Linked DNA regions of Homo sapiens: regions 1, 2, 3, 5 and 6 are each linked to region 4. Evidence: promoter capture Hi-C in human tissues and cell types (Jung and others, 2019). All regions are on one chromosome and are shown on one strand. The core of a region is centred on a gene start or on the middle of the fragment in contact, and the rest is flanking DNA. Distances in the headings are between cores, read along the strand shown. Region 1 overlaps DRC11 (dynein regulatory complex subunit 11). Region 2 has its middle 9.1 kb from the start of ACKR3. Region 3 has its middle 29 kb from the start of ACKR3. Region 4 holds the start of COPS8 (COP9 signalosome subunit 8). Region 5 overlaps GBX2-AS1 (GBX2 and ASB18 antisense RNA 1). Region 6 overlaps DRC11 (dynein regulatory complex subunit 11).

Region 1 (4,645 bases), core at 1,956-4,455, 670 kb before region 4:
CTAAGCCAAAAGAACAAAGCTGGAGGCATCACACTACCTGACTTCAAACTACACTACAAGGCTACAGTAACCAAAACAGCATGGTACTGGTACCAAAACAGAGACATAGATCAATGGAACAGAACAGAGCCCTCAGAAATAATGCCACATATCTACAACTATCTGATCTTTGACAAACCTGAGAAAAACAAGCAATGGGGAAAGGATTCCCTTTTTAATAAATGGTGCTGGGAAAACTGGCTAGCCATATGTAGAAAGCTGAAACTGGATCCCTTCCTTACACCTTATACAAAAATCAATTCAAGATGGATTAAAGACTTAAACGTTAGATCTAAAACCATAAAAACCCTAGAAGAAAACCTAGGCATTACCATTCAGGACATAGGCATGGGCAAGGACTTCATGTCTAAAACACCAAAAGCAATGGCAACCAAAGCCAAAATTGACAAATGGGATCTAATTAAACTAAAGAGCTTCTGCACAGCAAAAGAAACTACCACCAGAGTGAACAGGCAACCTACAAAATGGGAGAAAATTTTCGCAACCTACTCATCTGACAAAGGGCTAATATCCAGAATCTACAATGAACTCAAACAAATTTACAAGAAAAAACAAACAACCCCATCAAAAAGTCGGTGAAGGACATGAACAGACACTTCTCAAAAGAAGACATTTATGCAGCCAAAAAACACATGAAAAAATGCTCAGCATCACTGGCCATCAGAGAAATGCAAATCAAAACCACAATGAGATACCATCTCACACCAGTTAGAATGGCAATCATTAAAAAGTCAGGCAACAACAGGTGCTGGAGAGGATGTGGAGAAATAGGAACACTTTTACACTGTTGGTGGGACTGTAAACTAGTTCAACCATTGTGGAAGTCAGTGTGGCAATTTCTCAGGGATCTAGAACTAGAAATACCATTTGACCCAGCCATCCCATTACTGGGTATATACCCAAAGGATTATAAATCATGCTGCTATAAAGACACATGCACATGTATGTTTATTGTGGCATTATTCACAATAGCAAAGACTTGGAACCAACCCAAATGTCCAACAATGATAGACTGGATTAAGAAAATGTGGCACATATACACCATGGAATACTATGCAGCCATAAAAAATGATGAGTTCATGTCCTTTGTAGGGACATGGATGAAATTGGAAATCATCATTCTCAGTAAACTATCGCAAGAACAAAAAACCAAACACCGCATATTCTCACTCATAGGTGGGAATTGAACAATGAGAACACATGGACAGAGGAAGGGGAACATCACACTCTGGGGACTGTTGTGGGGTGGGGGGAGGGGGGAGGGATAGCATTGGGAGATATACCTAATGCTAGATGACGAGTTAGTGGGTGCAGCGCACCAGCATGCCACATGTATACATATGTAACTAACCTGCACATTGTGCATATGTACCCTAAAACTTAAAGTATAATAATAAAAAAAAAAGAAAAAAAAATTGTTTGTAGGGATGGGGGTCTCCCTATGTTGCCCAGGCTGGTCTCGAACTTCTGGATTCAAGTGATCCTTCCATCATGGCCTCCCCAAGTGCTGGATTATAGGCGTGGGCCACTGCGCCCAGCCAATTCTCACTTCTCATGGCAGAGGGACTCAGGAGGCAGAAAGAAAACCTTCCTTTTATCCTTCCAGAAATTCCCAGTTGGAAGACTATATAGGAAGTTCATGGTGCTGGATTTCTTCCTGCCTTCCATGCTGTTCCCATCCCCCAGTTGGTTTTAGCTCTTCCTGCTGCCTCAATATGTGGCTGTAATCCAGATTCTCCAGCCTCCATTCACATGAATTTTCCTATACCTCATCCGTGCCCCACCTTCAACTAGAGTTTTCCTGTGCAGGGATATGTCCTGATCCGCACCACTGGTCTTTATCTCTCCTGAGTTTGTCCTGAACTTCCAGCTGTTGAACCATAGACAATGGTTTGACTCAATAGCTCTAAAGCCAGCCGGTCCATCTGTTCTTAATCTTACCTCTGTTCCACTCAAGATACCTGGAGTTCACTTCAATTCCTTGGTCTCCTGTTTCTTCCACACGCTGTCAGCCAGGCAAGTCATCCTTTGTGGTATCTCTTGCATCCTTCGAGATGTCTCTTGCGTCTATTTCATCTTTTTATATCCAGTACTTTCACCCAAGGGCAGATCTTCATCTGAGCATTTATTCATGTCTTCAAAAATAATTACTGCATAGCTCTTGAGTTCCAAGAGCTGTCAGAGATGCCGATCAGAGTTTGGGTCACTCTAGCTGCTGTAGGGGAATAGGCTGTAGAATGGCAGGAGAGGAGGTGGGGGCACTGGCTGGGAGGCTGGTATAGTTGCAGCTGTGAGAGGCAATGATGCCTCTTGGTCAGGTGGTTGCCGTGGAGATGGGGAGATGTGGGCAGACTTGGGCTGTGAGCGTAGGCTCCTGAAAGAGTCTCCTGCCATTCCATATCCCTCATGAAGCCTCCCCTGCCACTCTGGTGCCTAAGATCATCACTCTCCTTTGAGTCTGCAGTGCCTCCATTGGCCCTTTGCCTGTGTAACCAAATATATCCTTTCTCTAAGCAGTGATTTTTGAGCTTTTTATAAAAGGGACCTCTTGAAAACATGAAGAAAGTCCACACACCTTTTCCCCAGAGAATGTTCCTTCCCATGAAAGTTTACAAACAACTGCAGGGTGTTTAACCATGGGGTCCCTGTTCCCTAGGCTAAGGACTCTATTATCTCTGTCACCCACAAGCCAACCTCTCACTTCTTTCCATCTTCTTCTCTTATTGTATTTCAGTGGGCACAGAAGATGCTCCAGACATACATTTCCTTGATGGCACCCTCATTCCTGATAACTTCCTTTGGAAATGCATGACATTCACTTGTCCATTTTTGTAAAGTCATGCAAAATTTGGTTTGAAATGTTCTAAAATAACCTAAGAATGTGGTTGGCTTAATGGTTCAATTTGGAGCACCTCTTTGGGCCAAGGGATTGGAGAGGAGGAGCTGTGGTCAGAGTTAGGTCTGCTGGCACTGCAGATAAACAAATGTTTTCAATGTGAATTGTGCTGTATAAAGGTCCAAGGGTCTTTCCAGAAGAAGTTAGCACTAAGTTAAAGCATTTTGAGGCTGGAGTGCATTTAGAGAAGACTCATTAATGTTCATGTGATCATGTTATGACAGGTCAATACCACTTTAAATCATTCCAAATGGTCTAACATGTGGCTTGAAAAATAACAGAGGAAACAGTTGTAAGGATGATTGCATAGTGCTCTATTACTGCGACTTTTGTTTCTAAAGCCAATGTGAGGGCCACACAACTGTGAGACAAAGGCGATTACTTTGGTATTGAAAGCACCTTTGCAGGACTGCTATCAGTTAGCAGAAAATGTCCTCCTGGCACTAGCATTGTCTTCTGTTAAAGTGCTTTCCACAGAGCATTCCTTAACTGCAGTCCACAACAATTCTGGATTTAAAACTGAGAACTCAAAAGAAAGACTATTTTTTTTGAGAGTTCTGTATATATTCTAGGTGCTAATCCTTTTCAGATAGATAGTTTGCAAATATTTTCTCCCATCCATAGCTTTTTTTTCATCCTCTTCACTGGGTCTTTCAGAGAGCAACAGTTTCTGATTTTGATGAGGCCCAATTTATACATTTTCCCTTTTATGGATCCTGCTTCTGGTGTCCAGTCTAAGACCTCTTTGCCTAGCTCTAGATTCTGAGGATGTTTTTCCTATGTTTTAATCTCAAAGCTTCATAGTTTTATGTTTAAGTCCATGACCGATTTTGAGTTTAATACTTGTGTAAGGTGTGAAGTTTACCTAGAGATTCATTTTGTTGCCTATGAATGAGAGACTAATTTTTAGAACCTCTTATTTGAATGTATTTATTGCGCTTCTTTTTTTGTTTTTAGTACAGATGGGGTCTCGCTGTGTTGCCCAGGCTGGGTGCCAACTCCTGGCCTCAAGTGATCCTCCTGACCAAGCCTCCCAAAGTGCTGGGATTACAGGTGTGAGCCACTGGGCAGGACTACTGTGCTTTTGTGTTTTCTCTTCCACTAGCCCTGAGCTGAAGACGAACATCCCAGAATGTTCTGTTTTCTTCTGTCTTTCAGTATCTCAGTATGGAGGGGCTCCAGATGGATCCAAATAAGGAACTGCGAACGTTCATATTTTAAACATTAAACTGTTTCACCAAGTTTCTTGATGAAAAGATCAAATGCAGGCAAGATTATTAATCACAAGATATTTTATTCTAAAATGGTCTTGTGTACAATTACAGAGATCCACCATGACAATCCTGCTCTTTCTCACTCCACTAGCCCTGCAATAAATTGGAAATTCACACAGAAACACTGATTCATTGTGAAATTCAACCGAAACATTCAGCAGTTCTCATGACTTTTTTTGCACTTATAATAGATTTTTTCATATTTATGTTAATTTGTAACGATCTCATGGACATGTAAAGCTTTTAGCTCTCTACCTGTGTGACATTCAGAAAATAACCTATTTTCCATTTAAAGAGGTTAGTTGAAATATTCAGATAGGATTATCCTATCTAATCCTATCTGAATATTTCAACTAACATATTAATATTTCAATTAAAACATGAGGTCTTTTCAAGTTTTCCAATTATGCATATA
Region 2 (4,383 bases), core at 1,604-4,103, 520 kb before region 4:
CTTCCGGATTTTGTGGTTACATTGGGATAAAGCGGGAGAATATCCCTATTTGTGGGAAATACACACAAGTATTTTGAGGGTGACAGGATATGAGTTCAGCAACCTTCTCTCAAATGGTTCAGGGAATAAAGATTCTTTGTTCTTTACCTTGAAATTTTTCTCTAAGTTTATGGTTATTTCAAAATAAAAAGGAAGGAAGGGTCTCTCTTATTAATTAATTTTGTCTCACGTTGTTTTAAGCTCTTTAGAGTGTTTTCAAATGTAAGTGGAAACGAAAAAAATATAACTATTAGCATATATAAAATTTAAATCTTAAAACCATGATCAACCCAAATAATTGTAGTAGATATATTGAGATATTTATTCTTTAATTCCCTGCAGGACTTAGATATTTTTAAGCTGAATCATTTTTATGTTTTGAAGCTAAAATCTATATATTGATGTTTGAGGAGTGTGAAATCACAATACTTCAGAATGTTACCAACTTTTCATAAAAATGTGACCTGGGTTTGACCCTATGTGTTTAGTAGCCCATTAGGCCCTCTGTGCTTTGATATACTCTCATGGCAAAAGTTTCCTGGCCTTACTCAGAGATCAGAAAAATTCTTTTCTGTGTCAAACTTTACAATGAAGTGAAAGTAGAGAAAGTAATGCTTCACTCAGAACTTTCTATTCGGGGTTTTTTCTTTTCTTAAGAAAGCGAAAGCTGAGAATGAAAAATTTCAAATATAGGTAACAGCAAGTAATATAAAGTATGCCTATGTACTCACCAATAAGGTCTAACAATTGTGAATATTTTTGCCTAAAAAATAAAAATATTGTAGAGACGTTGAAAATATTCCTATGTATTTCCCTCCATCTCATTTCCCTCTCTCTGCCTGCCCCAGGGTAACCTCTGTCCTCAAGTTGGTACATAGCCTTTCTTCCATCTGTGGTTTTTTGTATAGCTCTACAAACAATATGTGCTTTGCTTTGAGTGCTTAGAACTGTACCTAAATAGTATCACTTTATCTGAACATTCTGCAACTTGCTTTTTTTATTGGGGTAAAATTTAATGAAAAGCACAGATCTTAACTGTACAGTTGATGTCCTTTGATAAATGTGTATACCCACATAACCACTCCTCCAGTGGGAACACAAAACATTTCCAGCACCCCCAGAAAATTCCCTTCCAGTCTGTCCCCACCTCTAGAGATGACTATTTGATTTCCGGCACCACAGATTAATATGACTGTCCTTCAACCGTCACATGGTGTTTTTGTCAAACAACAATTGACCATAGTGTGTGAGTCTATTTTTGGACTCTCTATTTTGTTTCCTTGCTCCGTTTGTCCTATTGAAAATACCACACTAGGTCCATTAATATAGCTTTATAATAAGTCATGAAATTGCAAACTGTGAGTCTTTCAACACTTTCCATTTCAAGAGAGTGTTAGCTATTTTTAGGTTCTTTGCATTTCAATAAAATTTAAAATCAACTTGCCAATTATGACAAAAAGAAATTTCTGGGATTTTGATTAGGACTACATTGAATCTATGGAGCAATTTGGGAGAGCACTGACATTAACAACATTTATTTCAAATCTTTTGAATACATATCCAGAAGTGGGATTGCTGGATTATATGGTAGTTCTATTTTTAATTTTTTTTGAGGAGCCCCATATAGTGTCCCATAGTGGCTGCACCATTTTGCACCCCTGCCAACAGTGTGTAAGGGTCCCAATTTCTCCACGTCCTCACCAGCACTTGTTGCCTTTTTTTTTTTTTTTTTTTGTAAAGGCCATCCTGATAGGTGTGAGGTGATATTTCATTGTGATTTTGATTTACATTTTCCTGATGACTAGTGACATTCAGCCATTAGTCTTGAGTTCGATGATCTTTTTTCATATGCTGATTTGACATAGGCATGTCTTCTTTGGAGAAATGTCTATTCAAGTCCTTAGCCCGTTTTTAAATTAGACTATTGTTCTTTTTTTCCCTGTCGAGTTGTAGGAGTTTCTTATATATTTTAGAGATTAACCCTTTACCAGATAAATGGTTTGCACATATTTCCCCCCATTCCATAGGTTGCCTTTTTACTCCATTGATTGTTTCCTTTGCTGTGCAGGTTTTTAGTTTGATATAATCTCAGTTGTTTATTTTGTCTTTCGCTGCCCGTGCTTCTGATGTCATTGCCAAAATCAATGTCATGAAGCTTCTCCCCTTTGTTTCCTTCTAGGAGTTTTACAGCTTCAGATCTGGGTATTTATCCAAAAGACTTGAAACTGGGGTCCTGAGGAGATACAAACACTTCTCAGTTCATTAAAGCACTATTCACAGTATCCAAGGTAAGGAAACAGCCTAAATGTCCTTTGTCAGGTGAATGGATAAAGGAAATGTGGTATATACATACAACAAAATATTACTCCGTCTTAATAAAGAAGGAAATTCTGATATACGTGACAACATGAATGAAACTTGACATTTTGCTAAGTGAGAGAAGCCTGTCACAGAAAGACAAATACTCCATGATTCCATGTATATGAGGTAGCTAAAATAGTGAATCTCATAGAATCAAAGAGTGGAATGATGGTTACTAGAGGCGAGAGTTTGGGGGATGGGAATTACTAATCAGTAAGCATAAAGTTTTGATGTATAAATGTATAACATTATATCTAGTCAACAATAATATATTGTACACTTAAAAATTTGTTGAGAGGGTAGATCTCCTTTTAAGTGTTCTTACCACATTAAAATAAAATCTAAAAAAAGAAGAGTATGGAAAGAAAATAACAACACAAGTGAGTCTCCCAATCCATGAACAAGATCCTTCTCCATTTATTTTATTTTTCTTTAATTTCCCTCGGTACTATTTTTGTTGTTTTCAGTTTAGAGGTCATGACTGTCGTTTGTTAAATCTATTCCTATGAATTTTATGTGTTTCAAGGTGATATATACAAACACAATTGACTTTTTTTTTTTTTGAGACGGAGTCTCATTCTGTTGCCCGGGCTGGAGTGCAGTGGCACGACCTCCGCCTCCTGGGTTCAAGCGATTCTCCTGCCTCAGCCTCCTGAGTAGCTGGGATTACAGGTGTGTGCCACCATGCCTGGCTAATTTTTGTATTTTTAGTAGAGATGGGGTTTCACCATGTTGGCCAGGCTGGTCTCAAACCCCTGATCTCTGGTGATCCACTCACCTTGGCCTCCCAAAGTGCTGGGATTACAGGCGTGAGCCACTGCACCTGGCCGCATGACTGACTTTTGTATACTGAGTTTGTATTGTTCGGATTTTCTAAATTGGCTTATTAGTTTTTGAAGTTGTTTTGTACACTCATCAGGATTTGCTGCATAAATAATCCTGTCAACTGATAATAAAAGTTGTTTTACATCTTTCTTTCCAATCCATATGGCTTTTATTTCTTTTCTTCTTCCTTGTGCATTAGCTAGAGATTCTAGTACACTGTTGAAGGGAAATGGTGAAAATGAATATCCTTGCTTTGTTCTCCATTTTAGAAGTGAAGTGTTCAACCACTGAGTATGATGTTGGCTCTAAGTATTCATATGAGGCCTACGTCAAATTCATACATGTCGAATATCAAATTGGGGAAGTAAGTCAAATCAAAATCATTCTATTTTTAGTGCACGTGAAGTTGTTATCATGAATTGATTTTGAATTTTGTCAAATGCTTTATTTTATTAATTTAGCAAGTTATACTATTTTCAAATGTTAAACCTATTTTGCATTTCAGGTATAAATCCCACTTAGTCACAGTATATCGTACATATGTTGGATTTGCTTTGCTTTTTTATTTTTAAAAGGGTTTTATGTCTCTCTTTATGAAGGATATTGGTCTATAATGTTTTCTAGTAATGTTCAGTTATTTTCAGTTTGGGTCTCTCATAAATAGTCCTGCTGTAAACATTTTTGAGTATTTCTTCTGGTGCAATGTATACAACTTGAAGTTGGGCATGTACCTTGCAGTGAAGTTTCTGGGTCACAAGGTAAGAGTATGTTCAACTTTAGTGAATACTGCCAAAGTGGACATGCCAATTCACATTCCTACCTCCAGGGACAGCAGTGTCCCTCAGAGTGTGGACTATGAGCTATTTGTTATTAGACTGCAACGAGATAAGTTCAGAAATTAAGCGTCAGCATTTAGAAACTTTTATAGAAATTTGATGTTGCTTTGACATACAAATACATAGGCTCTTCTCGTCCAGCAGTGCATTGACCAGTTTGGATACTGTCACACTTGCATTATGAGGCGGGTGTGGGAGGAGCTTCACGTGCAATGGGGACCATGTGTTTTGGTCTGCAACGGAAATTTAAAAGGAAAGAAAGGCTGGTCTGTCACCATGTAGCGCTGGAGAAGCACTGGTGCATGAGAATTCTGGTGGTTCC
Region 3 (4,311 bases), core at 941-3,440, 540 kb before region 4:
CCTCTATTGTAGTTTGTTCCTTTTTATTATTGAGTAGTATTCTACTGTAAGAAAATACTACAGTTTATTATCACGTCTGGATGGGCCTTTGGGTTGTTTCCAGTTCTTGTCTATTGTGAATAATACTTCTATGAGTTTTGATAGACACATTTGTGTGTGTGTGTGTGTCTCTCTCTCTCTCTCTCTCTTTGTGTAAACATTATTTTCATTTTTCTTTTCTTTTTTTTTTTTTTTTTTGTTTTTTAGACAGAGTCTCACTCTGTCACCCAGGCTGGAGTGCAGTGGTGCGATCTCGGCTCACTGGAACCTCTGCCTCCTGGGTTCAAGCAATTCTCCTGCCTCAGCCTCCCTAGCAGCTGGGATTACAGGTGTTCACTACCACGCCTGGCTAGTTTTTGTATTTTTAGTAGAGGTAGGGTTTCACCATGTTGCCCTGGCTGGTCTCGAACTCCTAACCTCAAGTGATCCACCTGCCTCAGCCTCCCAAAATGCTAGGATTATAGGCATGAGCATCCGCCTTGGCCTCCCAAAGTGCTGGAATTACAGGCATGAGCCACCACATCCAGCCATTATTTTCATTTTTCTTGGGTAAATACCTAATAGTATAATTGCTGGATCTTATATTGTATTAGTCTGTTCTCATGATGCTAATAAAGACATTTCTGAGACTGGGTAATTTATAAAGGAAAGAGATTTAACTGACTCACAGTTCTACATGGCTGGAGAGGCCTTACAATCATGGAGGAAGGCAAAGGAGATGCAAAGGGACGTCTTACATGGCAACAGGCAAGAGAGCATGTGCAGGGGAACTCCCATTTATAAAACCATCAGATCTCATGAGATTTATTCACTACCATGAGAACAGAATGGGGAAAACTGCTCCCATGATTCAACTATCTCCACCTTGCCCCGTCCTTGACACAGGAGGATTATTACATTTCAAGGTGAGATTTGGGTGGGGACACAGCCAACTGTATCATATAGTAAGTGTACATTTAACTTTATAGGAAACTGCAAAACAGTTTTCCAAAATGGCTGTACCATTTTACACTGTGGCCAGCAATATGTGAGTATTCCACTTGTTCCTCATTCTTGCCAACACTCGACGTTGTCTGTGTTTTTATTTAGTTATTGTAGTAATTGTAAAATAGTGTCTAAGAATTGTGGTTCTAATTTGTGTTTCTCTGATGATAATTCAGTTGAAAATCTTTTCATTTGCTTAATGACCATTCATGTATGTAAATAAATTTTGTGTTCGTCTTTTGTCTGTTTTTTTTTTTGTTAGGTTATGTGTCTTCTTATTGAGTTATACGGGTTCTTTCTATATTCTGGACACCAGCCCTTTGCAGATATCTTTCTCCAGTCTCTGACTTGCCTCTTCATTTTTATAGGTGTCTTTTGAAAAGCAGCAGGTTTTACTTTGATTAACTCAAATTTGTCATTTTTTACATTAATGTTTAGTGTTTTTCATGTTCTAAGAAATCTTCCTGCCTCAAGGTCACAGAACATTTATTTCCTTATATAAGTTATATAATTTAATCTTTTACATTTACATCTAGGATCCATTTGGAATGAATTTAATGTGTGGTGCAAAATAAGGGTTGAGGTTCATTTTTTTCCTCACGTGGTTATCCACATTTTTCCTCCATTTACTGAAGAGACCACCCTTTCCTCATTGATCGCATTGGTGTCTTTGTGGGAAATTGATCAATCATGTATGTGTGTGCCTGTTTCTAGGGTCTATCCTGCTCCATGAATTTGCACATCTGTCTTTACACAATAGCACACAGTCGTGATTATTGTAACTTTATAGTAAGTATTTAAATCACTTGTACCCAAATACCTGTTATAGATTACTCCACTTTCTGGCAGAATCCAAGCCAAGACAACTGGGGACATCTTACTGCACAGCTCCTTGCTAGCATCTCTACATTTTTACATTGGTACCTGTAGTGGCTTGGATCTGTTTCTGACCCTGTCTCTGGGCTAATCTATAAAAAAGCATTGACTGGCTATCCTTACCTGATATCACTGTAGAAAACATGTATTTTCCCTTCCTCTCTGCAATAATCGTATAAGATTATAAAAGTATAAGTTGTTGAAAGTTCTTAAAAATAAAGCTTACTTTGCATTTCTAATTTCTTAACTTTCAGTCTTTTTCTACTTTTGCTCCAAAAATGTTACCACAACAGACAAATGCCAGTGGTTATGTGTTAATACCAGGAATTTCAGCCTTTTTTAAATACCAAAGAACGTGTGGTTCATGAAACATCCCTCGTCTGACACACTCCCATAGCCTTATTCAAGTTTCTAAAGAATTCCCCTGTCCAAGAACTGGGATTCCACCTCTTTCTCTCCTTCTCAGAAATGTGCATCTAAGTCAAAATGATTGAGTCATATTATTATAAAGAAAATCTCCCAAGGGTCAGTACTTCTTATTTGGTACTTTATTGAGAGTAACGGGTTGCCTGTGTCCTAGCACAGACCTGCTGCTCCGTGTTTTGTTTGACTTAGCACAGAACCACGTACACAGCAGGGACCACGTACACTTAACGCCTGTATAGTGGGTATAAAAATGATATGGTTTGGCTGTGTCCCCACCCAAATCTCACCTTGAATTGTAATAATCCCAATGTCAAGGGTGGGGCCAGGTGGAGATAATTGAATTATGGTGGTAGTTTACTCCATACTGTTCTCCTGGTAGTGAATAAGTCTCATAAGATCTGATGGTTTTATAAATGGGAGTTCCCCTGCACATGCTCTGTTGTCTGCCACCACGTAAGATGTGACTTTGCTCCTCTTTCACCTTCTGCCATGATTGTGAGGCCTCTCCAGCCATGTGGAACTGTGAGTCTATTAAACCTCTTTTTTTTTTCCTTATAAATTACACAGTCTTGAGTATGTCTTTATTAGCAGCATGAGAACGAACTAAAACAACACATAAACAATCTACAAATTCAGCTGGATGCCACCATAATGCTCTGTATGCTACTGCAAGTTAATACAGTATGCTCAGTCAAGTCTGTCTACAGCAGGGAGATGTGCCTCCACCTTAGTGATGGACCTCTTGGTGATGAAAATTTAGGGCCTAACAAGAGACAGATTGCACTGTCTCTTCCCAAGCCCATGTTCAGTGACATCATGTTGATATTTTCCAATCAGCCAAGATGGGAGTTTTTACGCTATAGACATTGGCAAGAGCTAAAAATTAAAGCTTTTTTCCCCCTCAAGGAGCAGATTGTTAAACACCAGCACATCACTGGACATGACCTTTCTGCTGGTAGGGAGGCAAGGTAGCAGTTGACTTTTCATAATGTGCTGTTGCTGTGTGGGAAGAGGAAGGGCTCATCCTGACTGAGGCAGTCATTTTAGGGACCGACATCTCCCTGCTGTAGACAGACTTGCCTGGGGACACTGTATTAATTTGCAATATCATGTAGAGCATTATGATGGAATCCAGCTAAGAACAACCTCATAACCAGTCTCCAGAGGTCCGTCCAGGAGACGGCGTGGCCAGTGGTGGGCGCCCTGGGCTGTATGTCCCCATCTGTGTCTGCCTTTGTGCCACTCATTTACACCAGCAATTGCAGGAGACTGGGACCCCCTCTCTTCAAAATTACTACCCCTCTTTATGTAGAGGCACACTGCCTAAAAAAACAAGTTGGAAAATTTTCCAAATAGCTTTGACTCAATAATTATCCGACAGCATGTGGACTATCTCTTGGGTCTTTTATACCATCAAACCAAATTGGCAGCATGAATCTTATAATCCTATTTACACATGTTTTGGGTTAGGAAGGAGTGGTACAGATTTTGTTCTAAACAGCATCCATTAGTTACTACTTGTACAATACATTCTATATGCGGGCCCTGTGATAAATGTCAAGGCTACAAAGAATGTGGCTCTTGCCCTCCAGGACTACAAATTCATTGTGGAAGACTGGGAAATAAAGCAATGACAGTTGGGTGCAATCAATGCTTTACCGAACTTAGGAAGAAATCAGGGAATCTTCCCAGGTGAGGTGCTACTTGGACATATATTTTCAAAGCAAATGAGTGAGAGTTATTCTAGCAGACAAGGAAAATGAGGTTGCTTTGGACAGAGAGAGGTGAAGGTGAGAAGGAGACCCACTTGCCTCTGGGGATCTCTCTTGGACTCAGGGGATGTGGATCAGTGGCAGGCACCCATCTGGGAGGATGGGGCTCACGTTTTGTGGACCTGTGGAAATGATATGGAGCAGGATATAAAAGTGGAATCATTTTGCTCAGCTTCAGAGGATCCCCAAGAAAATGACTGCTATGTTCCAAAGC
Region 4 (4,422 bases), core at 1,923-4,422:
CCCCATCCCTCGTTGCAAGAGCAGAGAGAAACGCAGTCCTTCCCACTCCAAAGCCAGCATCTCCAGGAACAGAGGGTCCTTGTGGGTGCCTCTCATTGACTTTCTTGCTTCTTCCCAGTCTCGATCCCTCTTCTGAGTCGCACCTCCGGAGATGACAGCCTTTTACACCACACTGCTCTTTCCTGTCCCCCTTCACTTCTCTCATTTACTATCAAAAGTCTGGGGGGAAAGGTGGCTCCAGCACAGTACAGTGACAACTTAAAACTGAATGTCAACCATCACAGCCCTGAAGACGCTTCAGTGCTTCACTGCCACTTGGAGTTCCCAGTGTCCAGGCCAGGGTCTCACCTTAGACCCCAACTGCTCCCAGAGACTCCTCTCTGCCCCCCAAGGACTCTCCTCCTACCCTCTCTGGCATCCAGGCTCCAACTCCCAAATTCCTGTACTGGCCTTCCAAAGAACAGCTTAGTCCTTTAAGTGACACCCCATCTCCACCTCTAACCTGTGATATGTATCAAAAGCCTCACCGGGATTTCCTATTCAGCAAACAGCCACCTTTGTAGGTTTCCACCTCTTAGAGGCCCAAAGCACCTGCCAAAGCGTTCACATTATAGTTTTCCCTTTAAATGATCAAATAGCCAAGCAGGGCTTCTATTGAATATTTCTTTGCCCGAAAAGGGTTAGAGACCATTATTACAAGCTTCAAAATCCTGCTCCTCATAGTTCTGTCAAGTGATCTTAGAATCATACTGCCCTCAGTCCTTCTCTTCCTTGCAGCCGTGGATGAAACTCTGTTGCTTTATTACTCCAAGATCTCTCTAGTTCTGCTAACTACTTATGTGCCCTTCTATTTAATGTTGGCAGTTCCTTGAGGAACACACAAGTGTTTTTTTTTTTCTTTACATTTCATTCAGGGAATTACTAAACAATCATTTCCACACAGAGATGTTGTGGATTACGCCAAAAAAAAAAAAAAAATCAAGGATGGCTGTCTCTGTCTTGAAATGCTTAATAATTTTATCTGTAAACTTGTGGTTTGTAAGTGAGGTCCATTAAGACAATGGAGCATGAGCCAGGGAAACGGGCCTCTACGTGTGGCCACTGATGTTCCATACAGCATTCATAATGCACCATGCACACTGAATTCCCTGTGGACCCCTGATGTTGCGAGGCCAGCAAGACTCAAAGTGAGCACAAGGTACTCGTGCTGTATCTACAACTGAGGGAGCTGGGTGCTGACACCCCAAAAGGCCGCACTTTTCCCCTTAAGAGAGTAAACTTGTTTCGAAGGCAGAAAGAAGGCAATGGTGTCTTAAGAAGCATGAAGAAACCATATTGTATGAGTCATGGTTCTCTAGAGGGACAGAACTAATAGGATATATATATTTATATATATATATATAGAGAGAGAGAGAGGAGTTTATTAAGTATTAACTCACATGATCACAAGTCCCACAATGGGCAGTCTTCAAGCTGAGGAACAAGGAGAGCCAGTCCAAGTCCCAAACTGAAGAACTTGGAGTCTGATGTTCGAGGGCAGGAAGCATCCAGCGTGGGAGAAAGATGTAGGCTGGCAGGCTAGGCCAGTCTCTCTTTTCGCATTTTTCTGTCTGCTTTACATTTCTAGCTGCACTGGCATCTGATTAGATGGTGTCCATCTAGATTAACAGTGGGTCGAACTTTCCCAGCCCACTGACTCAAATGTTAATCTCCTTTGGCAACACCCTCACAGACACACCCAGGATCAATACTTTGCATCCTTCAATCCAATCAAGTTGACAGTCAGTATTAACCATCACTCATATCATATATTTTCTTATTCATGCACTTCTTTATATTAGACACCTGATCATGCCAAAAGGCCAGTCCATAGTTCTTTTGCTTTTCAGTCCTTCCTTACGCATCGGTGAGTCCCAGGTCGAGAGTAGAGGTAGAATTCGTGCACGTAAAGTGCGATGAAAACGGGCAAGTTCACTTTGTGCAGCATCTGTTTTTACCAGCGTGGTTCTGGTAAAAACAAAATCTATATGCATGTATAAGCTATGAAGTACAAATTGCATAATTTCTGTGATTCCACATATGAGATCAGTGCACTTATATTAGTATTTAAAACTGGCATTGCACAACGTAAAGATGGATGGTGAACTTCATGCTAACAATTTAAATCTAAATTTTTCTTGGAATGATATTAAATAACACATAAAAACACTATGAAAAGAGAGAAACTGAGAGGAAAGAGAAAGTTTTATATTTTATGACCTCAGAGGCACTTTCTTTCTGTTTTTTGAACAAGGAAGCTCCGCACTTTTCTCTGAGCTCCACAAATTATGCAGCCAGCCTTGCAGCAGGCAACACATCAAAGCCTCTTTCCTGGGGGTCTAGTGAGGGATGTAAAACACAAATATGTTAATAATATACAATATAATGTCACTAACAGTAAGTGCTGTGCTAAACAAAAGCCAGGATGGCTACAGCAAGCCGGAGGGGAGCTGAGAATTAGATGTAAATTCTGAGGGATGGGAAGGGCCCTAGATTTTAGGGCGTTGTGCAGAAGAGTAACCAGATCTGCTCTACGTTTCAGGAAAGGAAAAAAAAATTCCCTCTGGCTGCGGTTCCGAGAATAGCCTGGAAGGAGGCAGGGGTCCCGGCTGGAGAAGCGTGGCTCCGGGGTGGGGCGTGCAGGGCTAGCCCGGGCGGGGGACGCTGCCCAACAAGCAGGTTTGCGGAGACTCACACCTTAGATTCTGAGTTTTTAAGCTTGTTTCCTCAGAGCAGGGAACTCACGAACGTTTCGTGAGCACCTACGGTATGCAGGGTACGGTGCGGAGCCCTAGCGTCACTGACGACCGGGACAGCCGAGCAGCTGCAGGATCCGTCGTGTTCCCCAGCAATTTTAATATTTAAAAATTCGTTACTGTTGCTGTTACTTGTTTTCTATGTATTGGATGTCTTCGTGAAGAACCCTCAAAAGTGCAACGAACTCCTCCCTGCCAGAGGGCGGCCGCGCGCTCTGAGTACAGCTTCCCGCGGAGCCGGCCAGGTCCTCCAGGGCACCGAGAAAGCCGGCCAGAACGGCGGCGCCCTATCCCGGCCGCAGCGATGTCTGACGGCGCCCCGGAACTGACGGTCTGGTACGCAGGGGCGCTCGGCGGCAACGGCGGCTTTAAACGTCATCGCGGGCGCGACGCCTGAGGGACAGTCTGGGGTTTGGCTGTCCGGACGGTGCAGCGGCGAGGCCGGCCGCGAAGATGCCAGTGGCGGTGATGGCGGAAAGCGCCTTTAGTTTCAAAAAGTTGCTGGATCAGTGCGAGAACCAGGAGCTCGAGGTAACCCTTTGCGTCGCGCTGGGAGAAACTGCGGAGTAGTCTTAGGCCCTGGGGCGGCACCAGTTTCCAGGGTAACGGGGTCTGAGGCTAGCGGGCTTTGGGAGCTCACGGGGCGGGCGTGGGAGGTGGACGTGTGGATCCCTGACCGCCGCAACCTGCTCCGACCGGGCCCGGTCTCCCCGAACTCGCCGGGACCTTTTTGTTATGTGTCTTCAGCTTGTGAGCCCGAAAACCCTGTGCGTCTTTGCTCCAGCACCTACCGATGAGCTCATATTAATTAGGCATCTTTCCTTCCCAGTATCGGGTTGGGAGAGGGTAGTAAAGTGGGTTTTATTAAAGATCTTGGTATACACACACACACTAACACACACACCGCAACTCACACGCACACCAAGAAAAATGTGACCATTGTAACCTTTTTTTAACTCACAAAGCCTTTCTCGTAATGTTGTCAAGTTAGCTTGCCATTTTGTCTTCAGTAAGACAGATGAAAGTTATGCAGCTGTTAAAGTTAATGTTTTTCTTAGACACTTAAAAAGGGTTTATATCATTAGTTTTAAAATTAAATAAAGGAGACAACATCCAGAAGCAGCAGCTCACTAATAGATAATAGATACTTTCCAGTTGAGTTAAAATGGAAAGAATTGTCTTTGCAACGCAGCTGTGGTGATTTTCTGTCTCTTATTCAGGACGCTTGATGTAATGGGCAGAATCAGAATGCTTCAGGAATCTGTCGAATTTGTTTCTTATAATAGTAAGATCATTTAAATGGGAATTTGAGAACTGGGGAAGGGGATCCACTTACATATTCTTGAATGTATAAAGAAACTGAAGCCCAAAGGGAGATAAATCAAAGCTGATGACGAATATAAACTTAATACTCAGAATTTTCGTGTTTGATACTTCTCTAAGCTGTTTCTAAATCTATAATAGGACTATAAGATTACTTATAGTCTTAGACTAAAAAGGCTTACTTTTAAAATTAGCATTTATAAAATATTATTTTAAAAATGAAAGTTAAAGGGTAAATGAGGTTTTTAAAATTTTGTGTTGTTTTGTTTTGTTTTCATTTTTGGCCTTCTAGGCCCCTGGAGGA
Region 5 (4,244 bases), core at 1,314-3,813, 900 kb before region 4:
AGGATGGTCTCGATCTCCTGACCTCGTGATCCGCCTGCCTCGGACCCCCAAAGTGCTCACTACAGGCGTGAGCCACTGCGCCCAGCCTATCAGCTCTTAAAAAGAAAGAGGCCAGGCCTGGGGGCTCATGCCTATAGTCTCAGCACTTTGGGAGGTCGAGGTGGGAGGATCACCTGAGCCCAGGAGTTCAAGACCAGCTAGAGCAACATGGCGCGAGACCCTGTTTCTACAAAACATTTTTCTTTTTTTTAGTTAGCCAGATACGGTGGCGTGTGCCTGTGGTCCCAGCTACTCAGGAGGCTGAGGCAGGAGGATCAGCTGAACCCAGGAGGTCAAGGCTGCTGTGAGCTGTGTTCATGACACCGCACTCCAGCCTGGGTGACAGAGTAAGACCCTGACTCCAAAAAAAGGAGGAGGAAATCCTGTGGCATGCTACATGAATGAATGTTGAGGACACTACGCTGAATCAAAGAAGCCAGCTGCAAAAGGACAAATATTGTATGATTCCATTTAGTTGGAGGTATTTAGGGCAGTCAAAATTATGGGCAGTAAGTAGACTGGTGGCTGCCAGGGCTGGGGGGAGGGGAAACAGGGAGTTGCTTTTCAATGTGAAAAAGTTCTAGAGAACTATTACACAGCAGTGTGAATCTATTTAACACTACTGAACTGTACACTTAAGATAGCTAAGAGGAATTTTTTTTTTTTTTTTGAGATGGAGTCTCACTCTGTCTCCCAGGCTGGAGTGCAGTGGCACGATCTCTGCTCACTGCAATCTCCACCTCCCAGGTTCAAGCAATTCTCTGCCTGAGTCTCCCGAGTAGCTTAAATTACAGGTGCCCGCCACCACGCCTGGCTAATTTTTTTTTTTTTTTTTTGTATTTTCAGTAGAGACGGGGTTTCACCATCTTGGCCAAGTTGGTCTTGAACTCCTGACCTCGTGATCCACCCGCCTTGGCCTCCCAAGTGCTGGGATTACAGGTGTGAGACACCGCACCCGGTCGGGAAAATTTTATATTATGTGCTTTTTACCACAATAAAATGTAAAAAAAAAAAAAAAAATTAAAAATAAATCAACAAATGAGTGAATGGTTTATTCCAAAGGAACTTCATGGATTAACTCTTCCCCGGAGCATCTGAATTTAAAAATTCTTAGGGGTGAAAATAATGAAAAAGAAATAAGTCCTCCATGTTGGCAAAACTTCAGGCAGCTATGGGGGGACCTTTGGGGATCACTGTGAGAATCGTGTTGCTGTTTTTAAGCTGCAATTTGGGGAAAAATAAGCTTTTGGAAACCTAATAATTGATTATTATTTATTAGATTTTTAGAAGTGTAAAGTCAGTATGTTTTCATTTATTTATTTATTTAAACAGAGTCTTGCTCTGTCACCCAGGGTGGAGTACAGTGGTGCAGTCTCGGCTCACTGCAACCTCCACCACCCAGGTTCAAGTGATTCTCCTGCCTCAGCCTCTCAAGGAGCTGGGATTACAGGCAACTGCCACTGTGTCCAGCTAATTTTTGTATTTTTAGTAGAGACGGGGTTTTGCCACGTTGGTCAGCGGCTGGTCTCGAACTCCTGACCTCAGGTCATCCACCCGCCTTGGCCTCCCACAGTGCTGGGATTACAGGCAGGAGCCACCATGCTTGGCCAAGTCAGTATTTTTTTTTTTTTTTTTTTTTTTTGAGATGGAGTCTCCCTCCGTCACCCAGGCTGGAGTGCAGTGATGCAATCTCAGCTCACTGCAACCTCCACTTCCCGGATTCAAGTGATTCTCCTGCCTCAGCCTCCCGAGTAGCTGGGATTACAAGCATATGCCACCATGCCAGGCTAATTTTTTGTATTTTTAGTAGAGACTGGGTTTTGCCATGTTAGCCAGGATGGTCTCGATCGTCAGTATGTTTTAAAAGAGCTCTGCCTTCTTCCAGGACTCTTAAATACATATTTAAAATTTTAGAAAGTCAGCCAAACTGTTTTCTATAGTAGGGTGGGGTGGAAGGGGTGGCTGGAGGGTATAGTCTTAGAAGACAGGCATATTTCCATTTTCAGAATTCAATGAGGACTGTGCTCCTTAGAGGCCATGGTGGCTGTATTTCTTACTGTTCTTACCCTTGCTATTTAAATAACATTGCTGGCTGGGCATGGTGATTCATGTCTGTAATCTCAGCACTTTGGGAGGCTAAGGCAGGCAGATTACTGAGCCCAGGAGCTCAAGACCAGTCTGGGCAACAAAGCGAGACCCCATCTCTACAAAAAATAAAAAAATTGATGGTGTGCACCTGTAGTCCCAGCTGCATGGGAGACTGAGGCAGCAGGATCCCTTGAGTGCAGAAGGTCGAGGCTGCAGTAAGCCACATTCAAGCCACTGCACTCTGGCCTAGGTGACAGAGTGAGACCTTGTCTCAAAAAAAAAAAAAAAAAAAAAAATTTGCTATTTTTTTCCCCATTTTTTACAGTCTCTATCTTAATATTGGGCTGTTTTCTTTTTCTAATGATAAAACAATCCTAATAACAGAAGGAACCATTTATCAAGTTCTTTCTCTGGGTTGGGCTCTGGGCCTGGGTTTTTGCAGTTTCTCTGCTCAGTGGGGCCTGCAGATCAGGATCCAAGGTTAACAGAAACATCCAAATGCTTGGAGCCACAGAATCTGGGCCCCACTCCAAACCTCTAGAGTCTGAATCTGCATTTCAACAAGATCCCTTCAAATTTGGTGAAGACCTGCCTTACACCAGACATCTTACTAATTCCTAAGTAAGTGAGAGAGGCGCAGATATGTTCACTTCCCAGGTAAGCAAATTGAACCAATTTCAGTTAAGTCATTGTTCTTGGTCAGTGGAGAAGCTCTGAACCTATCTCTAAGGTGTTACCTTGGGCTGCTACTCATCTTCCAGTGTATTGCTTCCCTTTCCAGGACAAAGCAATCTTCCTAGAGTCCCACTGAGACCAAACCTGCTCACTTGCTTCGTGGTTCCTCACAGCCTGTCCAGTGAAGTTCAGAATACTTGGTCTGGAAGCCAAGTACCTCCTGATCTGCCCCCACCTTCTCTAGCCTTGCCTCCTTCCAGCTGCCAAAGCATGGGGATCCTCCTAGCCAGGAGGATAAATCACTATCCCTCCATGGAACCCTGTACTTCCCTGCACACCTGCCTTCATTCAAGTTTTCCTTTGGAGGCAGTGGTAACTCCTGAAAGTCTATGTAGGAGAGGCTTGGGGAGAGTCATCTGCCTGGGATGGGGATCTGAGGGGTCTTGAAGCTGGGTTTACGTAGCCCTTTTGTAGGACAGATCAATTGTCCATCTCAAAGGGTGGGTGAAGGTGGGTCAGCTGATGGAGCTGGGGGATGCTGTCTTATCACTCCCTGGGCAGGTCCACTGTGTTAAAACTTGATTGTCCACCAAGGTGCACCCTGGCTAACTCCTTCATGATGTCCATCCTCACTTCCTGGGCTCTGCCTGGGCCCCCCTTTCACTCCATGATGGGCTTTACTTATGGTGCATATAACATCCCACCTCACCCTGCAGTTATTTGCTGGGGTCTGAATTCCCTTTCCAGATTCTACCAATGGGAGGGTGGTATGGTTTGTATATTTGTTCCCTCCTAATCCCATGTTGAAGTTTGATCCCCAGCATTGCAGGTAGGGCCTCATGAGAGGCGTTTGGGTCACAGGGCCTTGGTGACCTCCCTGCAGTATTGAGTCAGTTCTTGCTGGATTAGTACACTTGGGAACTGATTGTTAAAAAGCCCAGCACCTCCTTCGCTCTCCCTTGTCCCTCTCTTGCCATGTGACACACTGGCTCCCTTTCATTTTCTGCCATGAGTAAAAGCTTCTTGAAAGGCCTCACCAAAAGCACATGCTGGCACAATGCTTCTTGTACAGCCTGCAGAACTGTGAGCTGAATAAACCTCTTTTCTTTATAAATTGCCCGGCCTCAGCTGTTCCTTTAGAGTGATGCAAAACAGACCAATACAGAGGGAGTGTCTCCTCTGAGGTTCATTGGGGCAGCACCTTGCGCTGGCTGTAATGGAAAAAAGAGAGCCACTGCTTGTCCTTGGAGGATGAACATGAAGAGTCTTTGCTTTAAAATACAGTGTATTCATAGAAAATTTGATGTCTCATAGGGCCAACAGATCAGGAGATGACTGCTATTGAAAAGGTGTTTTATTGATCATTGTTCCTAAGAGGAGAGGGTATGCTATGACATGGGGGCAGCCCATGAGGAAGCCCCAGGGTCTTTCAGGAGGCAGGG
Region 6 (4,276 bases), core at 1,031-3,530, 710 kb before region 4:
TAATGAGAATCTACCACGTGCCAGGCACTGTACTCGGCACTAGGATCTTTTGTTCAGAAATCCAAACCATAAATAAGAGACAGTTCTGTTAAAAACAGCCATTTTAAAATATTAACAGAATTAACAAAACAGAATCAAGGTACAGGAGAAAATTCTCCAGCACTTGAAGAAGAAACACAGAAAGTAAAATAAATAGAAACCCAAAACATATCTTAATAAATATTCCAGCAAAATTCTTATGCTATTAGGAAATGTGAGGGCTCCTTTAAGCCCTCAAGAAGAAAACAAGGCTGTCTTGCAAAGGGATTAAAATAACCACCCTTTGATCAAAGGAGAATGCCAGCCTTCTTGCCCTCACAGACCAAAATTGGGTCAATGTAAATACCAGGATGGATAATGATAGGGACAGACGATAATACATTGAATAAAAAAAGAATCCATGTGTCTACACTGATAACGCAATTTTAAAAGATTCCACACTTCCTCACAGAAGAATGATATCTATTCAATGTAGAAGGAATGATAGAAAAATCTCCACTTTTACAACTGCTACAGCAATAACTGATGCAGATACAAAATCATCAGTGGGTGCTAAAACGCTGCCTGAGAGGCTGCTGGGAACAGAATCTCCACAGCCTCAAAATATCACCCCTTGGATTGATTGTTCATTAATTATAAAGGGAAAGATGATGCTTTACAGTGGAGAAATCCCGGGAACAGCACCTAAGCCACAGGATTAAACTTAACCTCACCACTGATGGGACAAAGTGGCATTAAGTGCCCCCAGTGGGAAACACTGACAGGGAGACACCATCATTTTCCTGTCAAAATGTTTAACCTGAATCGAATAATGAGAAAACCATGACACACATTCAATTGAGAGACAGTCTGTGCACAGCTCAGACTCTTCAAAAATGTCAGTGTTGTGAAAGATGGCGGAAGGCTGGGAAACTGTTCCTGACGGAAGGAATTACGGGAGACAGAAGAGACACAACAATCACTTGCACCATCCTTGGCTGGATTTTGGATGGAGAAAGACAAGTATTTATACAGGACATTATCAGGACAATTGGGAAAGCTGAAGGTTCACTGTATATTAGGTAACAGTATTGCATTTGATTTTCTGAGTGATTTTCCTTCTGTGGTTATGTAGGAGAATGTTGTCATTCATTGGGGGTAATTTCTTCATAAAAGTAAAACTAATAACTGCATTACGGTAGTACAGTTATGAGGAATTTTAAGCTTTAAGTGTGTTTTCAGGTCATCATGGTGTTTTTTAAAAATTTAGAGAAAACCATTAGGTGAGGCTGTGATAACAAATGTCCCCACCTCATTCCTCCCCAATATTTGTGTCTCTATTGGAAGGTATCTTTTGGAAAGAATTCCTCCAGTAAGGATTCTGTTGTGGAGGCCTTAGGTGCTGCCCCAGGTGCATTTTTTACAAGTGAAATCATTAACAATTCCCCATTTCCTTAAATCAGATTATGCCAGAAAGAATGCACCAAGGAACCTTGCTAGTAGGTTAAAAACCTGCTTCTATTACGTTAGGGGAGAGAGCTGCAACCATTTTATTAAGAGAATCTGTTAGTCCACAGCATCCTCTTAGGTTATTTGAATCAATTCAATCCAACAAACATTTACCAGGAGCCACCATCGGCCAGGTTTTGGCTTGAACAAAAATGTAAATAAAACATATTTCCGGCTGCTGGGATTTCAAAACACAAGAGGTGACACGTGACACATACATGTATTATTCTCTGTGTACTCACCAATGTAATCAGAGAGGTTGACTTTCAGAGCCTGGATCAGTAATCCTTCTTCCACCAGTTCCTTATACAGAGACTCGATGGTCCTGGGGAGAAAGCAGAGTGTCTGTTCCAGAGGCACACACACAGAAATCGGCGGTATTTCTGTTAATGATCACATACGCGGAGAACTTAAACCAGATCTATTTCAAAGTACATTTGTTCATATGCAAATAAAAGGATTTTTGAAGTGTTTCTACAATTTGGGGATAAATTAGGCTTTTTAAAAACAATACTTTCACTCATCCATGTGTGTATCTGATGTTTCCCATTAATAAGAACGATATCTTTGGGCGTCTGGGACCAGCTCTAACTCCTGCAGTCTGCCCTTCCATCAGTCTTCATGATGGCACAAATATGAATTAGAAATTACCCAATAATAGTAATGCAATGGACCTATAATTATATATTCGGCTAGCATCTTCAAGCTGTAGTACATCATTAATCCTTTGTGAAATTTATGTTTCCTTTTAACCCAATTGCACAATTGTTTGAAAGAAACATCTACAAAGAACAAAGACTTATACTGAAGATAATTCTTATATGGAAGATAAAACGTCTAAAGCAATGAGGGTGATGATTTTTTAGGAGGGTGTTATACTTTACAGAGTGTTTACAGATGTCAAAACCACTTCTCTAAAAGGACCTTGAGCATATAGCCAGCACATTGGTAATTTATACTAATTGAGAAAAAAATGGACATAGTATCCCACATAACGGATGAAACTCCCAATGATACTTGCTGGGGTTTGGCTTGCAGAAATTAGATAGGTTAAACTCAAATATTATTCAGTATAATCCTTCGAGATGTTTTGTCTTTTCCTCTTCTTTATTCTCCCATCCTACTCTGGTCTTTCTCTAAGTTGAGAATTGTAAATACAACTTTATTTAGACAGTTCTTCTGACTGTCCTGTGATCCAAGTTAGTGTGATTAAAAGATACCCAAGAATATCAGTTAGACCCAAGCCAAATACTATTCGGGGAAATGTTAATCCAATGACCCTAGTCTTTGGATGACTGGAGTTGTATTGCATCAAACATTTAAAGTAGTATGCCCTCTGCTGAAAGTTAAGAAATATTTAATTTAGTGGAATTTAGGATAGCAATATTTGACCCATATATATCAAGGAAGTATCAACTGTAGTGTTTTAACTTGAATACTTATTTAATATAAACAATATACGCATAAAATATTAACATAAATTTGAAGAAGATTCTCTAACAATCGAACAAATGATATTAAGAAGGTCTGAGGCTAGGTGTGATGGCTCACACCTGTAATCCTAGCACTTTGGGAGGCTAGGGTGGGCGGATCATTTGAAGTCAGGAGTTCAAGCCAGGCTGGCCAACATGGTGAAACCCCATCTCTACTAAAAATACAAAAAAATTAGCTGGGCCTGGTGGTGGGCAACTGTAATCCCAGCTACTCAGGAGGCTGAGGCAGGAGAATCGCTTGAACACCAGAGGCACAGGTTGCAGTGAGCTGAGATGGCGCAAGTTCTCTCCAGCCTGGGCGAAACAGCGAGACTCCGTCTCAAAAAAAAAAAAAAAAAAGCTAGAAGACACCGTGGCACAGTGTGTGAGCATGGGCTGCACCCTCCTCAAGGGATGGGACTCCGAGGCCCCTCTGCCCCCCAAATCTGCCCCAGGAGGTGCCGGTGTTTACGCATGGACAGATGTGTGCCTCCCCAGGAACTGGGGCACCTGAGACTCAAAACGCTGACCAGCTGCTTCTTCGGCAGCAGTCAGCCACAGCATCTCGACCTGGAACTGCTTCTCAAACAATGCAGCCTTGAGTGGAGAAACCTGCAGCCCCTCCCCCTATGGATGTCCCGTGACAGCCATTTCTCTAGAGAGCAGAAACCCACACTCCCCCGACTGTGTTTCCAGGGGCTGCTTGCCAGGGCCGCGGCAGTGTTCTGGCCTCCCTGGAGGCCACAGATGCCCAGTGCCCCTCTGGGTGCTCTGCCCTCCTCTTCCCCCCGCAGAGAGCTCTAGGCAGGGCTTTCTCCCTCACTGAGCTTCCCTCCAACAGAGTTTGGGGAGAGTAATGCTGGGACACAGGGAGAAGCAGGAACCCCCAAACAGGGTAGCGACAGGACTAAGGGAAGCGGAGGGAACCCCCAAACAGAAGAGTGACAGGACCAAGGGGAGGGAACCCCCAAACAGGGGAGCGACAGGACCAAGGGGAGGGAACCCCCAAACAGGGGAGCGACAGGACCAAGGGAGAGGGGAGGGAACCCCCAAACAGGGGAGCGACAGGACCAAGGGAGAGGGGAGGGAACCCCCAAACAGGGGAGCGACAGGACCAAGGGAGAGGGGAGGGAACCCCCAAACAGGGGAGCGACAGGACCAAGGGAGAGGGGAGGGAACCCCCAAACAGGGGAGCGACAGGACCAAGGGAGAGGGGAGGGAACCCCCAAACAGGGGAGCGACAGGACCAAGGGAGAGGGGAGGGAACCCCCAAACAG

What was found. The method cuts DNA at HindIII sites, captures the fragments that hold promoters and counts their contacts. A contact is called where the count stands out against the background at its distance.
Region 1: a fragment that was not itself captured here is called in contact with the fragment with the promoter of COPS8 in region 4 in 1 of the 25 tissues and cell types used here (dorsolateral prefrontal cortex).
Region 2: a contact is called between a fragment that was not itself captured here and the fragment with the promoter of COPS8 in region 4, in 1 of the 25 tissues and cell types used here (lymphoblastoid cells).
Region 3: a fragment that was not itself captured here is called in contact with the fragment with the promoter of COPS8 in region 4 in 2 of the 25 tissues and cell types used here (mesendoderm cells and thymus).
Region 5: a fragment that was not itself captured here is called in contact with the fragment with the promoter of COPS8 in region 4 in 1 of the 25 tissues and cell types used here (H1 embryonic stem cells).
Region 6: a fragment that was not itself captured here is called in contact with the fragment with the promoter of COPS8 in region 4 in 3 of the 25 tissues and cell types used here (heart left ventricle, lymphoblastoid cells and mesendoderm cells).

Annotation. Positions count from the first base shown.
Region 1 is chr2:236,410,595-236,415,239 of GRCh38, forward strand. All of the region lies in intron 8 of DRC11 (dynein regulatory complex subunit 11), which reads right to left. Among named protein-coding and RNA genes, the nearest start is that of IQCA1-AS1, 22 kb to the left of the region's middle. The HindIII fragment of the contact is 3,273 bases long and covers 1,570-4,645 here.
Region 2 is chr2:236,558,563-236,562,945 of GRCh38, forward strand. It overlaps a transcript of ACKR3 not described here. Among named protein-coding and RNA genes, the nearest start is that of ACKR3, 9.1 kb to the right of the region's middle. The HindIII fragment of the contact is 7,257 bases long and covers 1-4,383 here.
Region 3 is chr2:236,539,088-236,543,398 of GRCh38, forward strand. It overlaps a transcript of ACKR3 not described here. Among named protein-coding and RNA genes, the nearest start is that of ACKR3, 29 kb to the right of the region's middle. The HindIII fragment of the contact is 4,922 bases long and covers 1-4,311 here.
Region 4 is chr2:237,082,717-237,087,138 of GRCh38, forward strand. It overlaps COPS8 (COP9 signalosome subunit 8), which reads left to right and starts at 3,173. Exons shown (of 8, transcript NM_006710.5): 1 at 3,173-3,326; 2 at 4,411-4,422. The coding sequence starts at 3,249. COPS8-DT (COPS8 divergent transcript) reads right to left here and starts at 3,105. Exons shown (of 3, transcript NR_187934.1): 1 at 1,440-3,105. RefSeq lists enhancers at 2,219-3,113, 2,754-3,303, 3,114-4,008. The HindIII fragment of the contact is 6,775 bases long and covers 1-4,382 here.
Region 5 is chr2:236,187,970-236,192,213 of GRCh38, forward strand. All of the region lies in intron 1 of GBX2-AS1 (GBX2 and ASB18 antisense RNA 1), which reads left to right. Among named protein-coding and RNA genes, the nearest start is that of GBX2, 22 kb to the left of the region's middle. The HindIII fragment of the contact is 5,443 bases long and covers 1-4,244 here.
Region 6 is chr2:236,375,334-236,379,609 of GRCh38, forward strand. It overlaps DRC11 (dynein regulatory complex subunit 11), which reads right to left. Exons shown (of 19, transcript NM_024726.5): 13 at 1,770-1,852. Among named protein-coding and RNA genes, the nearest start is that of IQCA1-AS1, 14 kb to the right of the region's middle. The HindIII fragment of the contact is 4,498 bases long and covers 32-4,276 here.